Linked DNA regions of Homo sapiens: region 1 is linked to region 2. Evidence: promoter capture Hi-C in human tissues and cell types (Jung and others, 2019). All regions are on one chromosome and are shown on one strand. Each heading gives the region's core, a stretch centred on a gene start or on the middle of the fragment in contact. The rest is flanking DNA. Distances are from core to core; before and after follow the strand shown.

The links. The method cuts DNA at HindIII sites, captures the fragments that hold promoters and counts their contacts. A contact is called where the count stands out against the background at its distance.
Region 1: a contact is called between a fragment that was not itself captured here and the fragment with the promoter of IAH1 in region 2, in 2 of the 25 tissues and cell types used here (aorta and bladder).

What each region holds. Positions count from the first base shown.
Region 1 is chr2:10,114,048-10,119,107 of GRCh38, reverse strand. No RefSeq gene overlaps it. Among named protein-coding and RNA genes, the nearest start is that of RRM2, 6.2 kb to the left of the region's middle. The HindIII fragment of the contact is 3,706 bases long and covers 230-3,935 here.
Region 2 is chr2:9,471,840-9,477,241 of GRCh38, reverse strand. IAH1 (isoamyl acetate hydrolyzing esterase 1 (putative)) reads right to left here and starts at 2,691. Exons shown (of 6, transcript NM_001039613.3): 1 at 2,595-2,691; 2 at 1,203-1,255. The coding sequence starts at 2,675. It overlaps CPSF3 (cleavage and polyadenylation specific factor 3), which reads right to left. Exons shown (of 18, transcript NM_016207.4): 18 at 4,141-4,326. The coding sequence ends at 4,225. RefSeq lists enhancers at 1,072-1,632, 2,113-2,880 and a silencer at 2,150-2,919. The HindIII fragment of the contact is 18,322 bases long and covers 1-5,402 here.

The DNA of each region.
Region 1 (5,060 bases), core at 833-3,332, 640 kb before region 2:
ACTCTACACTGGAAGTTAGGTCAAAAGGCTTTATTAGGCCCTGCTTGGAGGTTCACGCCTGTAATCCCAGCACTTTGGGAGGGTGAGGCAGGCAGATCACCTGAGGTCAGGAGTTTGAGAGCAGCCTGGTCAATATAGGGAAACCCCATCTCTACTAAAAATACAAAAATTAGCCAGACGTGGCAGCAGGCGCCTGTAATTCCCGCTACTTGGGTTCCCGCTACTTGGGAGGCTGAGGCAGGAGAATCATTTGAACCCAGGAGGCAGAGGTTTCAGTGAGCCGAGATCACACCATTGCACTCCAACCTGGGCAACAAGAATGAAATTCCGTCTCAAAAAAAAAAAAAAAAGTCCGGCGGGGGATCGTTATTAGCCTAAGGCTAAAAGTTATTGGCAAGAAGACTTCATACGTGATAATATAGCTAGGATTTGAACCCAGGTCTGACTAACTCCAGAATTCCAGACTCTCAAAAACTTTGTTTTAATATGAACTGCCAATTACGTATATTTATATATATATATATATAGATGAGGTCTCACGATATTGCCCAGGCTGGGCTCAAACTCCTGGGCTCAAGCTATCCTTCTACCTCGGCCTCCCAAAGTGCTGGGATGACAGGCATGAGCCCTTGCGCCCAGCCCAACATTCTTAATGTAGCACAGCACAGCAGCACCACAACCACAAGTCTCAGGAGCAGCCCAGTTCAACTTTGTAGTTAGTTTATGTGTCACTCACTCAGAAGTCAGCAGGAAATGGTTAAGCAGGAAGCAGGGTGGACAACCAGATGGAGCTGTTTGATGCTGATGTGAGTGTCACCACATCATTTGTGTCTAGAACATTCGCATTGGAGAGCTTCAGCCACTGAGAGGCCATTTTCAGGAGATGGTGAGGATGAGGCAGCCAGCACAGTGCAGAGCCTTTGGGATTAATGATTTTCTTCGTGCTCAGATAACCTCTAAAATGATGTTGAACAGTTATGTGCCACTTTACACACATTTAAAATAGACATTTAGCCAGGCACAGTGGCACACCCTTATACTCCCAGCTACTCCAGAGGCTGAGGAAGGAGAATTGCTTGAGACCAGGTATTTGAAACCAGCCTGGGCAACACAGCAAGACCCCTGTCTCTAAAACTAAAATAAATAAGAATTAAACTGACATTTAAACTTTTAGTCATAAATAGTTACAGGAGATGTAATCTCCATCATGTTGCAAATATTAGCACTTTAAAATGACAACTGGCCGGCATGGTGGCTCACACCTGTAATCCTAGCACTTTGGGAGGCTGAGGTGGGAGGATGGCTTGAGCCCAGAAGTTCAACACCAGCCTAGGCAACATAGACCTTGTCTCTGTGAAAAATAAAAAAGTAGCTGATTGTGGTGGCACGCATCTCTGGTCCCAGCTGTTTAGGAGGCTGAGGCAGGAGTATTGCTTGAGCCCAGGAGGTTGAAGCAGCAGTGAGCCGTGATCACGCCACTGCATTCCAACCTGGGCAACAGAGCAAGATGCTATCTCAAAATAAATAAAAATAAAAACCACAACTATGTGCTTTTAACTCTTAGAATTTAGAATCCACAGATTTCAGTATGTTTGTTATGCTTATTTAAAAATTCCTAGTCTGGCCAGGCGCAGTGGCTCACGCCTGTAATCCCAGCACTTTGGGAGGCCGAGGTGGGCAGATCACAAAGTCAGGAGATTGAGACCATCCTGGCTAACACGGTGAAACCCCGTCTCTACTAAAAATACAAAAAAATTAGCCGGGCGTGGCAGCAGGCGCCTGTGGTCCCAGCTACTCGGGAGGCTGTGGCAGGATAATGGCGAGAATCCGGGAGGCGGAGCTTGCCAAGATTGCACCACTGCACTCCAGCCTGGGCAACAGAGTGAGACTCTGTCTCAAAATAAATAAATAAATAAATAAATAATAAAAAATAAAAATTCCTAGTGTCTGCCACATCTTTTTTTTTTTTTTAAAAGAAACAGGGTCTTGGCCAGGCACAGTGGCTCACGCCTGTAATCCCAACACTTTCGGAGGCCGAGGCGGGCGGATCACCTGAGGTCAGGAGTTCCAGAACAGCCTGACCAACATGGAGAAACCCCGTCTCTACTAAAAAAATTACAAAATTAGCCACGTGTGGTGGCACATGCCTGTAATCCTAGCTACTTGGGAGGCTGAGGCAGGAGAATTGCTTGAACCCGGGAGGCGGAAGTTGCGGTGAGCCAAGATCGTGCCATTGCACTCCAGCCTGGGCAACAAGAGCAAAACTCCATCTGAAAAAAAAAAAGAAACAGGGTCTTGCTCTGTCACCTGGTCTGGAGTGCAGTGGTGCAATAATGGCTCACTACAACCTTCAACTCCTGGATTTAAGCAATCCTCCCACCTCAGCCTCCCAAGTAGCTAGGACTGCAGGTGCACACCACCACGCCCGGCTCATTTTCTTTTATTATAGAGACAGGGTCTCACTATGGGTCCCAGGCTGGTCTTGAACTCTTGGCCTTAAGTGATCCTCTAGCCTCAGCCTCCCAAAACGCTGACATTACAGGCCTAAGCCACTGTGCCTGGGCTTTGTCCATTTATTGATTGGGTCATTTATCACTTTCTTATTGATTTATAGGGGCTTTATATGATTTGGACAGTATTTCTTTCTATTATATATGTTGCAGTTTTAGTTTCCTAATATTCCATTTATGTCTTTTTTTTTCTTTTTTAAAAAAGTATTAAGCTTTATTTTGAGGTAGTTTAAGACACACAGAAGTTGCAAAAATGGTAAAGTTACTCATCCAGGTTACTCAATATCTTACATAACCATAGTACATTGTCAAAATCAGGAAGTTGACAGTAATTAAATTACTAACCTTGTTTGGATTTCACTGGTTTCTACATGCAGTCATGTATAGGTGTATGTGTACATGGTTCTTTGAAATTTTATCACGTGTAGATTTGAATAACCATCACCAAATCAGGATACAGAACTGTTCCATCACCACAAAGAAGATCCCTGTGTTGCTCCTAATTGTTAACACCCTAGCCTTAACTCCCGGCAACCACTAATCTGGTCTCTATCACTGTAATTTGTCTTAGATAATATTCTATAAATGGAATCATATAATGTGGAACCCTTTGAGATTAACTGGCTTTTTTTAACTAGAAATAATGCCCTTGAGATTCATCCAAGTTGTTGAATGTATCAACAGTTTCTTCCTGTTTATTGCTGAGTAGTGTGCATTTCCTTGGATGGCTGTTCACCTGGTGTGGGACATCTGTGTATTTTGCTTTCTTGTTTTATTTACTTTTTTTGAGTTGGGATCTCACTACGTTGCCCAGGCTGGACTCGAACTCGTGGGTTCAAGTGATCCTCCCACCTCAGCCTCCCAAGTAGCTGTGATCACACATGCATGTCACCAGGCCCTTGCTCACATCTTGCTTTCTAACTAATTAATTTCTTTGCTTATCCCCTCTCAAATATTGGTTGGGTTTACTTCTTTTTTTTTTCTTTTTTTTTGAGACAGAGTCTCTCTGTCGCCCAGGCTGGAGTGTAGTGGCGCCATCTTGGCTCACTGCAACTTCCACCTCCTGGGTTCAAGCAATTCTCCTGCCTCAGCCTCCCGAGTAGCTGGGATTAAAGGCACCCACCACCATACCCAGCTAATTTTTGTATTTTTAATAGAGAAGGAATTCCACCATGTTGGCCAGGTTGGTCTCAAACTCCTGACCTTCAGTGATACACGTGCCTCAGCTTCCCAAAGTGCTGGGATTACAGGCAAGAGCCACCGCACCCGGCCGCTGTTACATTTTCTTTTGAGTACGGTTTTGGCAAATCCCACAGGTTTTAATGGATAGTGATCTCACTTTTGCATTTTTTAAATAGTCTGAGATGTGGGTTTTGATTTCCTTTATTACCTAGATCTGGTTTATTTAGAATGTTAAAACTTTTCATCTCCATGTGCTTTGATTTTCATTTTGAATATCTTTTCATTCAGATTACATTGTTAGAATCATTAGATGAATTTTAGGAGAACTGACATCTTTATGATATTGAGTCTTCTAATCCATGGCCACGGTATATCCCTCCATTTATTTATGTTGTCCTTAATTTTTTTCAGTACTTTTTTTTGTAGCTTCCTATATAGCGGTCTTGCACATTTAAAAAATTTTTCTCCTGGATATTTATTATTTCTTATTCTATGATAAGTAGTATCATTTAACTTTTTTATTTTCTAAATTTATGCACTGATATATATAGACATTGTTTTTCATATTATTAACCTTAAATCCTACAACCTTGATCAATTTGTAATTAATTTGGTTTATCTGTGGACTCCTTTATGTTTTCTTCATTCACAGTCATGGTGCCTGTAAAGAATGACAGTTTTACGTCTTCCTATCCAATCTTTATGCTCATTTTTATTTTACTTTATTATCATTATTATTATTTAGAGACAGGATCTCACTCTGTCTCCTGGACTCAAGTGCAGTGGCACGATCGTAGCTCACTGCAGCCTCGAACTCCTGGGCTCAAGCAATCCTCCAGCCATCACACCATCTACATTGAATGTAATTACTTATATATTTGGTTTACATCTACTATATTAGTACTTGTTTTCTACTTACCCACCTGTTTTGTGTTCTTTTGTCTCTTTTCTTTTCTTTTTGAGATGGAGTCTTGCTCTGTCACCCAGGCTGGAGTGCAGTGACGCGATCTCGGCTCACTGCAACCTCTGCCTCCCGGGTTCAAGCAATTCTCTTGCCTCAGCCTCCTGAGTAGCTGGGATTACAGGTGCCTGCCACCACGCCCGGCTAGTTTTTGTATTTTTAGTAGAGACAGGGTTTCACCATGTTGGCCAGGCTGGTCTCGAACTCCTGACCTTCAGTGATCTGTCTGCCTCGGCCTCCCAAAGTGCTGGGATTACAGATGTGAGTCACTGCGCCCAGTTTTTGTCTCTTTTCAAATATTCTTTGGAATTAAAAAGTTATTATTCGGCTGCACCAGGCCTCACCAGATGAGTTCTACCTGGTGACTTCAGCTTACATCACGTGGAGAAGAAAAATTGCCAACCTTA
Region 2 (5,402 bases), core at 1,442-3,941:
GTCAGGCAGCGGCTCCAAAGCAGCACAAGGGGACACTTTCTGACACTGCTCAAAGTTCTCAGGTGGCATTTATAAACTGCAGAACCACCACCGAAACTCAGCCTTATTTCTAAGAGATTGTTTGTGTGTGTAATGATTATAAAATGCGACTAGCCATTTTACAGAGTGAAATCACAATACTTTAATGAAGTGCTGGGCTGGGTGTGGTAGCGAGTGCCTGTTGGTCCCAGCTACTCAGGAGGCTGAGGTGATGATGCCTTCAGCCCCAGAGGTGGAGGCTGCAGTGAGCCCTGATCACACTGCTGCACTCAAGCCTGTGTGACAGAGTTGTCAGGCCTCTGAGCCCAAGCTAAGCCGTCATAACCTGTTACCTGCACGTATACATCCAGGTGGCCTGGAGCAACTGAAGAACCACAAAAGGAGTGAAACAGCCAGTTCCTGCCTTAACTGATGACATTCCACCATTGTGATTTGTTCCTGCCCCACCCTAACTAATCAATCGACCTTGTGGCATTCCTCCCCTGGACAATGAGTCTCAGGAGCTCCCCACAGAGCACCTTGTGACCCCCTTCCCCTGCTAACAATAGATAACCACCTTTAACTGTAATTTTCCACTACCTACCCAAATCCTATAGTACTGCCCTACCCATCTCCCTTTGCTCTTTTCAGACTCAGCCCACTTGCACCCAAGTGAATAAACAGCCTTGTTGCTCACACAAAGCCTGTTTGGTGGTCTCTTCACGTGGACGCGCCTAACAAGAGACCCTGTCGCAAAACAAAAACCACCAAAAACCAAAACAAAGTGCGGTAGAATTGTGACAAGGTGAGTCTTAAGTCATGGCAGCACTTCAAAAAAAGGCAAAGTAGCTTCCTACCAGTGTGGTGTAGCAGTGAAACTGCAAGTTCTGCAGTCATAGCAGCTGGACTTGGATCTGTCTGCCCCTGACTAGGGAAGAGGCCTTGGCCATTTCCTTGATTTGTCTGAGTCTACCCAGCCATCAGTGCTCAACCCTAAAATATCTAATTGGTCAGACTGAGTGAAGAGTAAATGTTTTCTGTTCCTTCTCCTATATACTGATTAGGGGAGGCAAGCAAAATTAATAAAGGAGGAATGTTCTGTTCAGAACTATCCTTCATCCATAAGACGGATCCCTAAGACATTTTCCATCCATAAGAACTCAAGTATCGGAAACCATTCTCACCTGACCAGCCTGTCAGCCAGCGATGCTCCCCATCCACCCTGCTGGAAGGAAAACTGGAGGAAGAAAAGCCCATTATTACTACTAATGACTGTAACCGGGCATCTCAGCGAGGGCAGTTCTGATTGGCAACTTCTGTTTTCTCGGCGCTCCCTTCTTGGCTTTGATTGCTTCACTCCAGGAGGTCATTTTGGGGATTACAGGTAAGTACACCTGGCAGCACTTTAGCAGAGGGGGATTTTTCTCTATCAAAAGCTAAACAGCCTGTATTCCCAGCACTTTGGGAGGCCAAGGCGGGCGGATCACATGAGGTCTCGAGTTCGAGACCAGCCTGGTCAACATGGCGAAACCCCGTCTCTACTAAAATTACAAAAATTAGCCCGGTGTGGTGGCGCACGTCTATAATCCCAGCTACTCGGGAGGCTGAGGCAGGAGAAACGCTTGAATCCGGGAGGCGGAGCTTGCAGTGAGCCGAGATCGCGCTACTGCACTCCAGTCTGGGCGACAGAGCGAGACTCCGTCTCAAAAAAAGAAAAAAAGAAAAAAAAAAAAAAGCTAAACAGAAATCTAAGTTCAGGAAATAAAGTCAAAGGTCAGTGAGGAAATGAAGGCCACACCGCCTCACTGCTTTGCTGGTTACCGAGCTGAGGGTGAACACTTTTTCATACACATTCCCATGGAATTCGGCAGCTCTGACTGCCCCATATGCCTAAACATAATGTTACCAGTTACTGGCGTATACACAAAAGCCTGGTGAAGCAAGTCCTGTCTGAGAAGAGGACACACACAGGAATGGAATTTCTACTCCCTCCCCGAAGTAAGAACCTGCATTTAGAAGACCGTTCCCTTCATGGGAGGTGAGATGATCTTGGATGAACGGATGGTCCTTTTCTACCTAATTCCTGAAGGCGTTTTACTTCCAAGGTCAACCCCTAACGGCCCCACCTGTGCCCGCAGGGAATGGGGCGAGAGAGCTCCTGGCGCCTCTGCCCGGAGCTGGCCGCGGGGCCTCCTGGGACACAGCGCGCGGTCGCCCGCGGCCGCTAACCCGGACCCGGAGGGGAAAGGCCGCTGCCCAGGAGGGCGCTGAGGGGAAGACCGCGCATCTCGACCCGGGTGGGAGGCGGCGCGGGGCGGGCAGCGCGGCCGGGTCCCCTCGCGTCTGTGCCTGGAGCCCGGGCTCTCGCGGACGCCGTCGTGACCTCCGGGACGCCGCGGGCCCGGAAGGCGCAGCCACTGGGGGACCCGCCACTCCTCCGGTGTCTCCACGGGCGTGGCCAGGCCTCCGGCCCAGCCGTCTCGGGCGCCGAAGAGGACGGCGAGGAGCCTCGGCCTGCTCGGCAGCGACCCCGCAGGGAGGCCGGGGCGGGAGGCCGAGCGTCGGGGCGGCCGTACCTGGGTGATGGAGTCCCCGAAGAGCAACAAGCGAGGCCAGAGCAGGGCACTCCCGCAGCCCGCGGCCTCGCACAGCGCCATGGAGCAGCCGGGCGGGGCGGGGCGGGGCCGCCAGCCACGAGAGGCGCCTGCGCAGTGGCCGCCCGTGGGTTGCGGGAGCCGGGCTCGTGGGCACCCACGCAGTCACTTTGGTGACGCGCGAAGGTCGTTGCCCCTTGGAGTCCGTTTGCAAGAAGCTCGGCCTCCGCGCTTGCTCACCCACAGCAAGGCTGCCCCCAGGGAGTCCGGAGCCCGCGTCCCGCTGCGTGGTTCCCGGAAGAAAAGCGGTTGGGGGCCCTTCTAAGCCCACCCCGCGCTCCGCGGGCGCAGGTGCGTTCGGCAAAGGGCAGGAGTGTGACCTCAGGACGCGCGGCGGGAAGCACAGCTGGCTCTCGGTGGGGCGGAGGGCTGCTCCAGGCCCCCCTGGAAGAGGTCGTGGGATGCGCGCGCGGCCTCCTGCGCCCAGCGTCACTCTGGAGGGCCTGTAACACCCACGAGGACGCAGGCACTGCGGAAACCCTGGCAGTACCTCGTGGTTCTGCGAATGACAAGGGAAAGCAGCTGCACCTTCAGTGCGCGCGCAGCCGGCCGCTTTTCTTTTTCCCGCCGTGGGGTGGATGCGCAGATGCAGAACCCCGCGGACACGGAGCACTGACTAACTTCCAAGGGATTCACCTGTTAAAACGTGGTTGTAATGCAACGTTCTTACCTCAACTGTGCAATGAAGTTCGGCAGCCGAGCTAAAAACGAACGGGTGGGAAGGATGCCTTGAAATCACGGAGCTGTAGATGAGTAACAGAAGGGCCAGGGGCGCCGGCGCAGAGGCCGACCCCGCTCCCTGGGGCGGGGCGATGGGCGTAGAGCATGACTTTCTTTAGGTTGCTCGTCCCAAGCTCGCTTGGATCACCTGGGGGAGCTTTACAACTAAGATCCAACCTAGGGCCCTCATTCCAGCCGGACTAACTCACCTCCTGGTGGCAGGACTTGGGCACAGGTGCACTTGTGATGCACCCCACGTGATTCCCACGGGTAGCCCAGATTGAGAGCCCCTGCTAGAGCAAGCAAAGGTGCCTGGACTTCATCTTTATCACAAGGACTTCATTAAGGCCTTCAAGCAGCAGAGGCTTGAGGCCAGGTCTGTTCCAGGAATCAGCTATAGGGGAGGAGATGGAGGTGGTTGCAGGAATTCAGAGGGGAGAGTAGACTTGGACTCGAACAGCAGCAGTGGAGATGAAGACAGAAAAGATTCAAGTGCAACTTAGAATCCTTATTATTAACTCAAATTGGTTACCCCAGAGGAGAGGGTAACCAGCAGCGGTTGCTATCGGCAGATCTTGATGGTTTCAATGGGAGCTGCACATACATGCCTGGAAGAAGAATCCAAAATTCTAAAATAATGGGCAGTTGATCTAGTAGTTAGTTCTAGAATAATGGACAAATTAATTAGCAATTTAGCAGTATTCAGGCTGTTGAAATAAAGGCCATTTGACATTAAAAGTAAACAGGCTCCCCCAGAGAAACGAATGCATTTTATTTTAGGTAACAAAAGTAGAGTCAAGTATTTTTTCAAAGTTCATATACAGGCACAGTCTCAGTGAACTGGCGTCAGGGCCTCGTACAGTCTCTGTGCAGCCAGCTCCACCATTTCTCGGAGGGATTCATCGTCTTCACTTCCCTCTTCACATTCTACAGTCTGAAAGTGAGGCACAAACAAGACTGTTAGAATTAAGTCTATAATGATTATATAGAAGATAAATGAATACTCTTTAAAAAAACCATCATCTCATAAAAAATTAGCCAGCTGTGGTGGCGTGTGCCTGTGGTCCCAGATAAGAGTCTGAGGTGGGAGGATCACTGAGCCGGGAAGGTTGAGGCTGCAGTGAGCTGTGACTGCACCACTGCACTCCAGCCTGGGCGGCACTGCGAGACCGGGTCTCAAACTAAAAAAAAGAACAATCATCTGTGTGTGCAGAGGTCATGGTGGGACTGATTACCATGAAACAGAACGGCCGCCCTACACACTTGTGGGCGTGCAGTGCTTCCTGACAGCAGCACGGTCCTAATTAGTGATGACTTGAGGCTGGGGTGAAAGACTGGGGAAAGTCTAGTAAACTACATTTACATCAAAGCCCACAGTTTGATCTAGTAAATGATACTCCAGGGAAGTTCATCTATGCCACACAAATTACTTGGCAAGGAATGGATGTGGCTATCTACTCAACATTTGGTACTGAATTTGACTGAAACTCACTAATAATCTTCTAGTTGCTTCTTTTTTTTTTTTTTTTTGAGACAGAATCTCGCTCTGTCGCCCAGGCTGGAGTGCAGTGATGTGATCTCAGCTCACTGCAACCTCTGTCTCTTGGGTTAAGGTGATTCCTGGGTTCTCCTGCCTTAGCCTCCCAAGTAGCTGGGATTACAGGCACACCACCACGCCTGGGTAATTTTTGTATTTTTAGTAGAGATGGGGTTTCATCATGTTGGCCAGGCTGGTCTCAAACTCTTGACCTCAGATGATCCACCCACCTTGACCTCCCAAAGTGTTGGGATTACAGGCGTGAACCACCACGCCTGGCCTCTAGTTCTTTTTTTTTTTTTTTTTGGAGACAGAGTCTCGCTCTATCATCCAGGCTGGAGTGCAGTAATGTGATCTTGGCTCACTGCAACCTCTGCCTCCCTGTTTCAAGCAATTCTCCTGCCTCAGCCTCCTGAGTAGCTGGGACTACAGGCAGCTGCCGCCATTCCCGGCTAATTTTTTTTGTATTTTTT